Linked DNA regions of Homo sapiens: regions 1, 3, 4 and 5 are each linked to region 2. The links are contacts of gene promoters, found by promoter capture Hi-C in blood cells and fetal thymus (Javierre and others, 2016). All regions are on one chromosome and are shown on one strand. The core of a region is centred on a gene start or on the middle of the fragment in contact, and the rest is flanking DNA. Distances in the headings are between cores, read along the strand shown. Region 1 has its middle 25 kb from the start of RPL39L. Region 2 holds the start of EIF4A2 (eukaryotic translation initiation factor 4A2). Region 3 overlaps ST6GAL1 (ST6 beta-galactoside alpha-2,6-sialyltransferase 1). Region 4 overlaps RPL39L (ribosomal protein L39 like). Region 5 has its middle 43 kb from the start of RPL39L.

Evidence for each region. The method cuts DNA at HindIII sites, captures the fragments that hold promoters and counts their contacts. A CHiCAGO score of 5 or more calls a contact.
Region 1: a contact is called between a fragment that was not itself captured here and the fragment with the promoter of EIF4A2 in region 2, in 1 of 17 cell types (total B cells). The highest score is 5.2, in total B cells.
Region 3: a contact is called between a fragment that was not itself captured here and the fragment with the promoter of EIF4A2 in region 2, in 2 of 17 cell types (activated CD4 T cells and total CD4 T cells). The highest score is 5.4, in activated CD4 T cells.
Region 4: a contact is called between a fragment that was not itself captured here and the fragment with the promoter of EIF4A2 in region 2, in 3 of 17 cell types (naive CD8 T cells, activated CD4 T cells and non-activated CD4 T cells). The highest score is 6.6, in naive CD8 T cells.
Region 5: a contact is called between a fragment that was not itself captured here and the fragment with the promoter of EIF4A2 in region 2, in 1 of 17 cell types (total CD4 T cells). The highest score is 5.1, in total CD4 T cells.

Annotation. Positions count from the first base shown.
Region 1 is chr3:187,112,728-187,115,427 of GRCh38, forward strand. No RefSeq gene overlaps it. Among named protein-coding and RNA genes, the nearest start is that of RPL39L, 25 kb to the right of the region's middle. The HindIII fragment of the contact is 1,384 bases long and covers 754-2,137 here.
Region 2 is chr3:186,782,310-186,785,009 of GRCh38, forward strand. It overlaps EIF4A2 (eukaryotic translation initiation factor 4A2), which reads left to right and starts at 1,268. Exons shown (of 11, transcript NM_001967.4): 1 at 1,268-1,330; 2 at 2,123-2,168; 3 at 2,255-2,387; 4 at 2,653-2,700. The coding sequence starts at 1,302. It overlaps SNORD2 (small nucleolar RNA, C/D box 2), which reads left to right and starts at 2,487; the gene lies at 2,487-2,556. RefSeq lists an enhancer at 1,944-2,173. The HindIII fragment of the contact is 20,029 bases long and covers 1-1,468 here.
Region 3 is chr3:187,038,948-187,041,647 of GRCh38, forward strand. All of the region lies in intron 3 of ST6GAL1 (ST6 beta-galactoside alpha-2,6-sialyltransferase 1), which reads left to right. Among named protein-coding and RNA genes, the nearest start is that of RPL39L, 99 kb to the right of the region's middle. The HindIII fragment of the contact is 1,118 bases long and covers 692-1,809 here.
Region 4 is chr3:187,134,254-187,136,953 of GRCh38, forward strand. The region is part of intron 1 of RPL39L (ribosomal protein L39 like); the gene reads right to left. Among named protein-coding and RNA genes, the nearest start is that of RPL39L, 3.9 kb to the right of the region's middle. The HindIII fragment of the contact is 1,081 bases long and covers 822-1,902 here.
Region 5 is chr3:187,094,865-187,097,564 of GRCh38, forward strand. No RefSeq gene overlaps it. Among named protein-coding and RNA genes, the nearest start is that of RPL39L, 43 kb to the right of the region's middle. The HindIII fragment of the contact is 1,128 bases long and covers 824-1,951 here.

The sequences.
Region 1 (2,700 bases), core at 196-2,695, 330 kb after region 2:
TTGTATTTTCAGTAGAGACAGGGTTTTGTCACATTGGCCGGGCTGGTCTTGAACTCCTGACCTCAAGCGATCCGCCCGCTTTGGCCTCCCAAAGTGCTGGGATTACAGGCATGAGCCACCACGCCTGGCCTATAAGCTTCATTTTGGAGGGGAGTCTCTGGGGGCGCTGTCTCTCCTGAACTGGTGATCTCTAACCCTACATTAAACAAGTGTTCTCCTAGAACTTCATTTCATCATCATCTTAGGAATTTCCTTTGCTCCTCTGTGAATCTTGTTCCTTTTTCCCTCACACTGCTTCTTTCTTAGTTTACATCTCCTTGCTTTTGTGGGACATACCAGAACGTGGTTTTTAGAGAGAGAGGGCACATGGGAGGAGGCAGCAGGGTGAAGGTGGGAATGGATGGCTCAGAGGAAACATGCCATATAAGGAAATGTGAAGTTATCACCTGACAGTAATGCAAGGACACCGTGTTGTGTGCTCTTGGAGGTTCTTCCTTCAGAGACAATAAATTTCAACTATACTGGATTTGAAAGGTAAAGCCTTTAAGATAGAGCTTTATATTTTTTGGTGTGCATAACAGGCTTGGATATCTCCTGGAAGACACACTATTCCTCCCCCAAGTACCAAAACACAATCATTAAAGAAGCTGTACTTCACCACATTGACAGAAGAGGGCACCATTAAATGAAGAATCTTGTAAATTAGCCCACATCCACAAAAAGAATTACAAAAAATGGAATAAATCTATGCAAAGCTTCTTAAAGAAAGAGACTCAACACACCTCAAGTGATAAAAATTTTCCACCACTCCAAGGGAGGTAAATACAAAAATGACCATGAAGCAGAGGAAAACTGCAATGCTACACTCCAGACTCAAATAACCTCAAACAAGTATAGACATGTGAAAAGCTATACATATATATACATATATGTGTATATATGTATATATATGTATATATGTGTGTATATATGTATATATTTGAACCTCCCAGGTTCAAACATAAATTTTAGAACTATATTTATTTTTTGAACCTCCCAGGTTCAAGAGATTCTCCTGCCTTAGCCTCCCAAGTAGCTGGGATTACAGGTGGGCGCCATCACACCCAGGGAATTTTTGTATTTTTAGTAGAGACGGGGTTTCACCATGTTGTCCAGACTGGTCTCAAACTCCTAACCTCAAGTGATCCACCTGTCTTGGCCTCCCAGAGTGCTGGGATTACAGGCATGAGCCACTGCGCCTGGCCTGAAAAACTATCTTTAATCAGAAATTAAAATATAAATGGATTTAGAAAAAAATGGGAAGTAATGAACAGTGTGTTGATTGAACTCAGAAAGAAAATAAAAGAAAAAGAAAAATAATCTTAGGATTGAAACATAAATTTTAAGAGGGTACTTATATTGGTTTCCTAGGGCTATCTTAACAGATTACTATAAACTGAGAGCTTGAAACAATAGGAATTTATTTTCCCACAGTTCTGGAGGCCAGAGGTCTCAAATCAAGGGGCTGGCAGGGCTTGTTTCTTCCCGAGGCTCTGAGGGAAGGGTCTGCTCTATCTCTCCTTCATAGCTTCTGGGGGCTGCCAGCAATCCTTGTTGTTCTTTGGTTTATAGATGCGTCACTCTAATCTCCACCTTCCTTCCCACATTACCATCGTTTCTATGTGTCTTCTCTCCTTCTATTCTAAGGATACTTGGAATTGGAATTAGGGCTCAACCAGAAAACCTAGGATGATTTTATCTTGAGATACTTAATTACACCTGCAAAGACCCTTTTTCCAAATAAGATCATATTCCCAGGTTCTGAGTAGACATTTTTGGGGTGTGGGGGTGGGCGTGGTCATCATCACCTCGCTATAGCACCCAAAGGAGAATGTACTCAGATGGAAATTTAATATGGGCACTGAACAAAGGCAAACAAGCAAGAAAATGAAATGAAATAAAGAAGTGAAATGGGTCAGGAAGAAAGTGATTGACAGGGAAGACAGTCCAAAGCAACACTGGTATAACTGGAGTACATGAAGAAGAAATAGCAAACAATGTAACTATCATTTAAAACTATAATTGAACTGTTGAACTGGGTGACAGGGTGAGACCCTGTCCCTAAAAAAACAAAAACAGAACTGTAATAGAAGAAGAAAGCTTTCCAGGAGTAAATACAGGTTTAACTTTAAAAATGCCCAAACTATTCCCTATTTTTTATTCCCACCAGCAATGTATGAGAATTTCAGTTGCTTTGCATCCTTGACAGCACTTGCTATTGTCAACTGTATTCTTTTGCTTTTTTTTTTGTTTATTCATTCTTATAGGTCAATAGTGGTATTTTACTGTAGCTTTATTTTGTATATCCTAAAAATGATGTTAATTGCATATCACTATGAACCTCTTTTAATGTGCTTATTTGCCAACTACATATCATCTATGATGAAGCGTCTGTTCAAATTCTTTGCCTGTTTTATAAATTGTTGTTTCCTTATTATTGAACTTTGATAGTTCTTTTTATAATCTGGATATAAGGCTCTTATTTGATATATGTAGTATACAGAGATATCTAGAGAGAGCAAATATTCTGCTTCTGATGTTACTTTTCATTCTCTTAATGTCTTAAAGAGAAATGATTTTAAATTTAATAAAGTCCAACTTATCAAGTTTTTAATTTTATGAATTGTGTTTTTGTTGTCATATTTAAGACACCTCTGCCTC
Region 2 (2,700 bases), core at 18-2,517:
GAATTTTCAAATAAATAAATAATTTTTGTATTAAAAAAGTAGTATTTAGAACCGAATATCTTCTATAATATAGAAAATTGAGTCAGCTTTCCCAGTAATGATTCTTTAAGTTGGCCTTCTGAAATATGAGAAAATGTTACCCTGATAGTCTCGATGATATTTTGCACCATGGGTAGGGTTGTATTTTAAAGTTAAATGACTACATATATTGTTTTTTGTTTTTGTCGAGAGACCTGAGATGGGGCTAATTGAAAACGTCTGGAGCTTAAAGACCCGTGCAGTTTACGCAGCAAGGATATTATTGCTCTGAATTTCAATAAATCAACATTTCACTATATATCGGCAAAGTCTACAGCCTTTAAAAAATGACCAATATAGACGGAATCAAAACCGATGTAGTCCCAAAGCGGCACAGAGCTGTATCTGCCAAAGCGTCCATTTAAATTCGTGCGTTCCAAGGAAAATTACTGCTTAGTTTCTATCCATTTGCAAAAGTTTATGATTTTTTTCAGGCATTCCTCACACCTGTTAGGTTAAAATCAGTAACACTCTTAAAAAGAAAGCGAGAGACCGGAAATGATATGAGAATAGAATTGGCCACTCCAGAGACATCTGCAAATGACACTCCATTTTTCCTTCTCGCGCTGCAAAATGTACCGGTAAACCGGACTTCCCGGGACTCGCTGGGTGGCCGACATTTTCCCTAGCAGGAATTTTACGTTTCCAAGATCTGAATGGATGTTAACGGTCGGGCTAAATGCCAGGCAGGTCTTCATTGTGGAATTAAACAGCGGTGGGAGCAAGCGGAATAACCGAGTTCCCCTCCCGCACCTGAGTGCCGGCAGCGAGCCGCGAGCCGGGACCTGTCACCCGCGGGAAGCCCCGGCCGCCCGACGAACAGCATCTCCGGTTTCCGCCTCCGGCTCCGGCGCGGCTCCCCCGGCCCGCCTCTGCGTCAGGGACGCGGAAACCCCGTAGGAGCAGGGCGGGCGGGGAAAGCGAGGTTTAACTAACTCCGCAGCTATATTCTTCCGCCGCGAGGTAAAGAGTCCCAACCCAACCCCGGGCCCTAGGATTTCCAGCGACCCTGTAATATCGAGAAATTACCACATTTGGGTTTTTCTACCAACTTGCTTAGGATTTTATCCGAGGTAACGACCCCAGGATCACAATTTTGTAGCTGACCGAAGCACGGCGAGAAAATTCCTCCGCAAGAAACGGGTTCCGGCCACGAGCCTATAAAAAACGGGTGGTTGGGCGCCGCTGTCTTTTCAGTCGGGCGCTGAGTGGTTTTTCGGATCATGTCTGGTGGCTCCGCGGATTATAACAGGTATGCAGTCTGTTGGCGGTCGCGGTCTGTAGTGAAGGTCATAGGGCGCCAGGGGAGATGATAGTGGATGGCACGGAGGCAAAAACTCTAAATTAATGGACGTTTTCTTAGGGTACAGCACTCCTGTGCCCTTCCAGAAGCTTCCATGATGGGTAGGGCCCGGATTGTGGGGAGATAGGACGGTGGTGCGAAAGCAGTGGCTAAAGGGCGTTTTTCCTCTCTAAGACATTACGAAACTTCGGCTGCTTTCCTTCCCAGTGTAGAGCACGGGAAACATGGAGTAAAAAGCCGTGGCGCAGTCCGAGTTCGGTACACTGTAACCAGGACCCGAAGCTTTATTTTCGGTCATCCACACGAGTTGGGGGAGGGTCCTAGGCTTTACTTGGGGAAGGGTTGGAGGCAGCGGTCTCCACTCGGCCACGGCGCGGAGGCGACGGGACAGGACCGGTGCCGGTGAACCGTTGGCATCGCCCTCGCCAGGCCGCTCCGCCCGCGTCAATCACCCGGCTTGCGCATTGTTGGGGGCGGAGTTCGGCGCTCCGAGCTCTCGCGAGACGCTCCGCAGTTGAAACGGGATCGCCATGCGCTCGGGCCTGGGGGGCTGCCTTTCCGGGCATCCGCAGGCCCCAACCTTTAGGGAAGGCGCACAGTGTGGATATTCGCCCTGAGGCTGCTGCTTTAGCTTGTGCAGGGGAGGCTAACGTGCTGAGACGGGTTGCAAAGGGCTATGCGCTTAAGGTGCAGTTGAGGTGGCCTGGAAGGGGTGTCTGACTGCAGTATTCTTGTCAGCAGAGAACATGGCGGCCCAGAGGGAATGGACCCCGATGGTGTCATCGAGGTAAGAAACGGTTGTGGATCTTGAAGCTTTGGAAAGGTGAGTGTGTTCATCTCATTTATGCGTGCATTATTTTTTCTAACTTACAGAGCAACTGGAATGAGATTGTTGATAACTTTGATGATATGAATTTAAAGGAGTCTCTCCTTCGTGGCATCTATGCTTACGGTTTTGAGAAGCCTTCCGCTATTCAGCAGAGAGCTATTATTCCCTGTATTAAAGGTAAAAGAAACTGGCATTTTTAGGAAATTGTTCTACATAGACATGAACCATAAAAGGGAAAGTAACCTCTGGGGGACTAGCACCTGTTTGTATTCCTTAAAGTGAAATGATGGCAATCATCTTTCGGGACTGACCTGAAATGAAGAGAATACTCATTGCTGATCACTTGATTATTTGGGCATAATGTTCCAAATGGAATACATGGTGTGAAGTAGAAGTGACAATTTGATGTGGGATCGGTAAATGTGTATCCTACTTTTTTTAGGGTATGATGTGATTGCTCAAGCTCAGTCAGGTACTGGCAAGACAGCCA
Region 3 (2,700 bases), core at 1-2,500, 260 kb after region 2:
GCAGGGAATCTCAGGATCTCAGTATCTGGCTCCAGCTTTGCTGTTTTCTTTTTGTATGTATTTTTTAGTCCTCTTTAACTGCTGATTCAATGTGGGTTTCATTGGGGGGTGTAGAGAAATGGCTTGTCCATTTCTATTAACTATATAAGATTTAAGTTATTCTGTATTTCAGTCAACCATTCTGAGTACCTACTACCTGCCACGAATGCAACTGGTACTGAGTATGTCATGACGGGTGGGTCGGGACAGGATTTCCTTGCTTTGAGCATTGATTTCTGCCGGTTCAGTGTTGGCCAGTTCTTTGAAGGTGATGATGCAAGTCGCTGTGTTCTTCCTCTAGAAGCCTCGTGATGATTGTAAAGATTCTCTGATACAATTGCATCAGTTCAATAATCTTTCATTGAGTATCCGCTCTGGTCCAGGCACTGTGCTGGGTACTAGGGTTTCAGAAAGGATACCAGGAGGAGTTTTCCTTGAGCAGCAAAGTCAGGCATGAAAAGCAAGCATTACAAAGCACTGGCTGGCAGCAAAGGGGAGCAGGGATAGTGCGGAAGGGGAGGTGGCCTCCACTGACCTTCAGAAGCAGAAAGGTGATGCTGTCAGAGCTGGCAGGCACATGGACAAGGAGAAAGAGTGCAGCAGTGCAGACACCTGGAGGCTTAACACAGTCTGGTGTAATTGGAAAATTCAAAGCTTAGTGTGTTTTTCCAAAACATTTGTAGAGAAAAGTTTGCTACTCTTTTCCCTCGGTTGCGCCATTTAGAGAAAGTTTCTTCAGCCTCTGCCTTCTTCAGACAATTTGAGAGATGAGAAAGGGTCTTGCAGTTATAAGTGCCTGTGACCAGAAACTCCAGCCACCTGGTGGACTTGGAGCCTCAACCAAGGGTGGTGTCAAGGGACCACATGAGCCCTTATGTGAGATTTCAGATGAGTGCCCTGAGGCCATGACAGAGCACAGGCTGTGAAGGCTGAGGCTGTCTGATGGTTGCAAGACTGTCGCTAGACCCAGCTGTTTGGAGGAACTCTTCTTTCCTGGGAAACCACACCTTGGAGAGTAGGTACTGGGCAGCTGCTGCCTGAGCCTCCACTCCTGTGACAGTGAATCAGGCCCTTCCTGCCATCTTGTTTCATTCAGACATGTGAAAGTCAGGTTCTAAGTCCACTATTTCCAAATCACTCATGCAACTTTGAAAATTATTTGTATTTCCAAACCTCACTATACTCAGCTATAAATGGAGCTCATAAAATCTGCTGTGCTTATCTCACGGGAGTATAATAGGTCTGTAAAACCTTACCAATACGGAAAGTACCTGAGTGTTACCACTCAGTGCACAGCAGGGATGGCAGGTGCAGCACTGATGGTGAAGGTGGCTTGTCTGCGACTGTCTGACAGACGAAGTTGCCTCTCTAGTGACCTTGAGTCCGACTTGATCACACTGACTTCTCACTGTCCCTTATCACAGATGCATGTCCTTGGGTGGAAAGATGATGAACTTTTAGAGTCAGACAGACCTGGGCTGGAATTCTGGTTCTAGAACTGACTTGCTGTTGACATTGGAGAAACCCTATAACCTTGCTAAGTCTCAGTTTTTTCCATTTCCTAAAATAGGATTGTCAATATCTCTATCATAGTGTTGTAGTAAAGGTTCAATGAGATATTGCAAGGAAAGTGACTACCACGTAGTAGGCCCTCCTTAAATGCTACTTTCCTTCTTTTCTCTAGTTCTTCTTCAGTTGTCATATGGTCATGTGATTACCTGTGTTGGGTGTCTGCGGAAATTGAATTCCTTAGTTTCTGGTAATACAACAAGCTTCCACCCTTCACTTCATGATCTTCTATCTGAATTCTTCTTCCACTGTGTACATTTAATCATTTCCACAACTTCAGCAGCCCAAGATAGGAGCCCATCGTTCCCAGAGTCACTGGTTCCTGAGGTCTGGGATGGTGGAAGCACTGCTTTGGTTGGTACTGCCAATGGATTCCAGGAATGAGCTGGATGTCAGTTCATGGAGAATTCCCAGGGAAGAGCCTGGAGCTCAGGGCTGCTGAGTCATGGCTGTGGCTTCACACTGCTGTCTTCACTACCCGTATCACCTCCACATGGCCCCCAGGCTGAGCTGCTGCTCTCCTGTCTCTGTTCAGAATACCTTCTGTGCCTTTTTGCTTATCTAGTTCAAATCCAATGAATACCATGCTCTTGTTTTGCCCTCCCAACACTCTGCAAATCACATAGGGCAGAGATAATTATTCTGAAAAACTCAGGGGCAGAAATATTAAGTGACCTGCCCAAGGTCACCAAGAATGGGGATAAGAACCCAGGTTTTGTGAACACCCAGTCCAGTACTCCTACTACCTTTTCCTGATATCCTTAGGAGCGGGATCCATGGGAAGGGACCTCAGACCCCTAGTGGGTTAGCAAAACCCCGGAGGTGATTGCTTTGATTTATTATTGTAAATAAACCCAGTGATTGGGGAAAGAATGTAATGTTTTCCAAAAGATACAGACATTATTTGAGTTCAAAGTGCTTCCAGTTTCCATTCAGTTACACAATAAATTCTGAGAAAACAAAGTAGGTGTTTACTCAGAAATAAAGAGACTATTCAGTCTCTATTTGCTCAGTGAAATCTATTTTCCAGAGCTTCTTGCAGTTCTGTGCATGTTGTACTGGAAAGGACATGGGTTATGGAATCAAATCCAC
Region 4 (2,700 bases), core at 112-2,611, 350 kb after region 2:
GTAGTCTAAAGCAGTGGTATACAACTAGGGGCAATTCTGCCTTTCTGGAGACATTTGGCAGTATCTGGAGATATTTTTGGTTGTCACCACTGGAGGAGTGCTGCTAGATCTAGAGGGTGGAGGCCAGGGATGCTGCTGAACATCCTATAACGTACAGGTGAGCCTCATACGACAAAGAATTATCCAGCCCAAAATGTCAGTAGTGCCCAAACTACTTTAGCCTGACTGATAAAAAAAAAAAAAAAAAAAGAAGACACAAATTACCAACATCTGCAATGAAAAAGGGGACAATGCTACAGGTCTCAGGACATTAAATGGATAGAATAATATCACAAATTATTGTATGCCCATAAAGTCAACTTAGTCATCGAAGTCTTGTAAGGAAATGGACCGATTCCTTATGAGATGGGTACCACCAAAGCTCATGTAAGTGCATAACCTAAGTAGTTCTATGTCTATTAAAAATGTTGAATTGTGTAGTTAAAAATCTTGTAACAAAACTACAGGCCCAAATGGCTTCACTACCAAAAGCCAGAGATCAGGACAAGACCAAGCCTTTCTCAGTGCCAGGAGGAATGCTTGAGCTTCAACTCCCAGTTCCCACCTCTGTTATGCTTCCAGGGATTCCCAAATATTTTGCATTCTGTGGTGTTCACACCTCAATTCTATCTCACAGTGCTGACCTGATCAGTTGAAAGGTGCTGTTGCACGTAAGAGTGACCTTTGCATGTTGGGTGAAAGGGAAGCCTCAGAAAGGCAGTAATTTGAGCCAGTGGTAGACATTCTTTCCCAACTCAACTTGCCAAGGCTTTTTCGCTTAAAGCTTTCTTAAATTCTTAAGAAATTACATGGCTGTGTGATGGTAGATCCTCCCACCCTGATGGGGCAATCTCATTTCAGTCACCTGCAGGTGTCTACTGGGGTGGAGATCCAGCTTCTAAGGCTTTGTCAAATACTGTGGCTCCTGAGGCAAAGCAGTTCAGAAGCATAGCTGAGACTGAGCCTCATGATGGGACGGTAATATCGTTTGGCTGTGTCCCCACCCAAATCTCATCTTGAATTGTAACTTCCACAACTCCCACGTGTCGTGGGAGGAACCCAGTGGGAGGTGATTGAATCATGAGGGCGGGTCTTTCCCGTGCTGTTCTTGTGATAGTGAATAAGTCTCATGAGCTCTGATGGCTTTAAAAATGGAAGTCTCCCTGCACAAGCTCTCTGTTTGCCTGCTGTCATCCATGTAAGATGTGACTTGCTCCTCCTTGCTTTCTGCCATAATTGTGAGGCCTCCCCAGCCATGTGGTACCGTAAGCGCAATAAACCTCCTTCTTTTGTAAATTGCCCAGTCTCGGGTATGTCTTTATCAGCAGCATGAAAGACTAATACAGACGGGTAAGCAGTGAATAGGCAAAACACACTCGTGGGTGAGGTAGCTCACAAACAGCCTTATCTTTCCAAAGGAAGACATAAACCAAGTGTGTTGATCCATTTTGCCTTGCTATAAAGGAATACCTGAGGCTGGGCAACTTATAACGAGTTTTATTTGGCTTATGGTTTTGCAGGTGGTACAAGCATGGCACCAGCATCTGCTAGGCATCTGATGCTTTAACTCTTGGTAGAAGGTGTAGGAGGAGCAGGCATGCCGCATGGCGAGAGACAGAGCAAGAGAGATGCCAGGTTCTTTTGAACAATTGGCACTCATGTGAACTAACAGACTAAGAACTCTTTCCATGGAACTAGAGGCTCTAGGAGGACTGGATTAGGACTGCATCCAGTACACACTGATGTAAAGCTAACATCTTCCCTCATCACACTGCTTTTGAGAGCCATTCAAAACACTAAAGATCGAGATATTGGAGTCTGCCCATTTTATATTCCATAACTAATGGAGACTGCTCAAGTGAAAGCTTAAATTTACAGGTAATTTTCTGTCCCTATCTACACTTCAGACTAGAGCATCGGCAATTTCTTCACTAAAGCTAATTACTTTTTAAAGTGGTGTGACTGACAAAAAGAAGTCAGCCCAAGGATGCTGCAGTGCCAGAGTTTGTAACAATATAATTAGGAGTGAAGGTTGGTGAGGTGACCACCCTCCCTGATGACATCTTTCTTCCTTTCTCTATAGTTTTACAGTTCACTTATGCAAAACTGGACAATCAAACAGCCAAAGCAGTAGAGATAGGTCTGCCAGCAACTGAGTTGGTTCTAATGCAACAGCTGAGGGAAGTTTGAGCCTTTCTCTGCAGCCCTAGACCATCTGTAATTAGGCTGTGGTTCTTTAACTGCCAAGGCCTTTGAGTTAAGCTGGGTTAGTAAGGTTGTTTGATATGGATCGCATAGGATAAGAGTAGGTAGTGGTATTTTCTGGGAGATAAGAGTCAATGTGAGTAGTTTTTTGGGTGGGGTGGGTGGTGGGGAAGGCAGTTTTTCTGAACATTATAAGAAGTTTCCAATATCTCAAAACTTTTGTAATAGTGTTTTCCCAAAGAAATATAATGTGAGCCCCACATATAGTTACAATTTAAAATTTTCTGAGTCATGTTAAAAAATAAATAGGAACAGGTAAAATTAATTTGAATATATTTTATTTAATCTGATTTATTTAAAATACCATTTAAGCATGTAATTAATATAAAGGTGGATAAAATATTTTAAATTAAAAAGGAGACTTTAGGCTGAGTGCAGTGGCTCACACTTGTAATC
Region 5 (2,700 bases), core at 138-2,637, 310 kb after region 2:
AAGCAAAACTTCTGGCTGTAATAGCAATCACTATAGTCTGACTCTCAGGAGGTCTTCCTCTTAGGAAAAGGGGGAGAGTACCACATCACGGGAACACCGTGTGGGACAAAATAATCTGGGTGACAGGCCTTGAGTCCCAGATCATTCCTGTGGGAAAGTTTCTTTCAGCAGAGACACAATTGCAGTACTGGACTCAGCAGGGGACATCTGTGTCTCTATCCAACAGTCAGACAGGCTTGGTGCTCATGAAAGGTCTTAGAGAAAGGGTCCTCTTTCCCCACTTGTCCACCACTGCAGACACAGCTGGGGCTTCTCTCACGGGAACTCTGTGTGGATTCACCTACAGACAGCCTTCCTGGAACACTTCAGGGCAACTGCATCCCCACAGAAGGAGCATTCCCCAGGTTTGGGCTTGCACAAGAAGCAGACTCACAATTTCTCTCTACTTGAAACACCAATATTCCTACAGACAAAAAGAAGTGCCTGTATAATCTGAATAGCTGGAACACTGGGACAGGTGTGAGGCTGGGAGGTGGATAGCTTTTCTGCTGGCCTGGCAGGGGAGCTGAGATAGCTCCCAACCTTCACTCTGATAAGACCTCAGTGCATCTATTTGGGAGCTCCCCAAGCAACCTTAATCAAGGCTGGGATCTCTGCCCACCATTGGGTATTGCATTTACCCACTTGCTTTAGCTACAACCGGTTCCTACCCAGGGATACAATTCCACCCCTACTGTCCTGAAGCTTGAGCCATTAACTCAGTAAATAAAATAATGGAGAAAAAATAAATAAATATGAGTGCACAACACAGGGAAATGAGATAAGCTTCAAAAGACCCCTACCATTCCAATCCCACAGGAGACAATGAACTTGCCTATACCAAGTACATACATACTACAAGTAGCATCTGAGACAGCCATCACACAAAGACTCTCTATAAGCAAGGAATTCTTACAGAATCTTCACTCATAAAAGCACCAAGAACCAAATTCAGCTGTAATAAACTATAAATATTGAAGTCACATCCTTAAGAGAAAAAAAAAGAAATTAAAAAAAATGAAACCAAAAATAAATTCAAGAACAATTACAAGAAATAGTCTACCCAAATGAGAAGGAACCAGAAAAGAGATTCTGGTAATATGACAAAATGGGGTTCTATAATGCCCTGAAAAGATCATACTAGCTCCCCATCTCTGGATCCAAAGCAAGATGAAATCTTTGAAATACCAGATAAGGAATTCAGAAGGTTTATTATTAAGCTGCTCAAGGAGATACTGGAGAAAGGTGAAAACCAACATAAAGAAATTTAAAAATCAATACAGGATGTGGATGAGAAATTTTCCAGAGAGATAGATATAAGGAAAAACTAATCAGAATATCTGGAAATGAAAGACACACTTAGGGAAATAAAAATACAGTGGAAAGTTTCAACAATGAACTAGAACAATAGAAGAAAGAATTTCAGAGCTTGAAGACAAGGCTTTTGAATTAGCCCAATCAGATAAAGATAAAGAATCAAAAGAACAAAGTCTCCAAGAAATATGGGACTACGTAAAATGGCCAAACCTAAGAAGAGTTGTTGTTCCTGAGGGAACAGAGAAGGATAAAAGTTTGGAAAACGTATTTGAAGTAATAATTGAGAAAAAGTTTCCTGGCCTCGCTAGAGATTTAGATATCCAAGTACAGGAAGCTCCTAGAACATCTGAGAAATTAATTGCAAAAAGATCATCACCAAGGCAAAAAGTGATCAGGCTATCTAAAGTTAATATGAAGGAAAGAATTCTAAGAGCTGTGAGACAAAAGCATCAGGTAACCTATAAAGGAAAACATATCAGGCTAATAACAGACTTCTCAGCAGAAACCTTACAAGCTAGAAGAGATTGGGTGTCCTATCTTTAGACCCCTTAAACACAATAATTGTCAGTCAAGAGTTTCGTATCCAGCAAAACTAAGCTTCATAAATTAGAGCAAAATAAAGTCTTTTTCAGACAAACAAATGCTGGGGTTATTTGCCACTACCAAACCAGCACTACAAGAAATGCTAAAAGGTGTTTTAAATTGTGAAAGAAAAGCTTGATATGCACCAAAATAGAACTTCCTGAAAGCATAAAACTATAAGGCCTATAAAATGTAATGAATGTATGAATGTAAATGGCCTAAATGCTCCACTTAAAAGGTACAGAATGGCAGAATGGATTAAAAAAAAACATAAACTAGATATCTTCTGTCTTCAAGAGACTCACCTAACACATAAAAATTCATGTAAACTCAGGGTAAAGGAGTGGAAAAAGATATTCCACACAAATGGAAACCAAAAGTAAGCCAGAGTAGCTATTGTTATATCAGACAAAACAGATTTTAAAGCAACAACAGCCAAACACAAGCAAACAAAATACAAAGAATAACATTATATAATGATAAAAGGATCAGTCCAACAAGAAGATATTACAACCATAAATTTATATGCACCTAACACCAGAGTTCCAAGATTTATGAAACAATCACTACTAAATCAAAGAAATGAGATAGACAGCAACACAGTAATAGTGGGAAATTTCCATACTCCACTGACAGCACTAGAAAGATCACTGAGACAGAAAGTTAACAAAGAAGCAGTGGACTTCAACTATATGCTAGAACAAATGGACTTAACAGATATTTACAGAACATTCTACTCAACTACTGGAGAATATACATTCT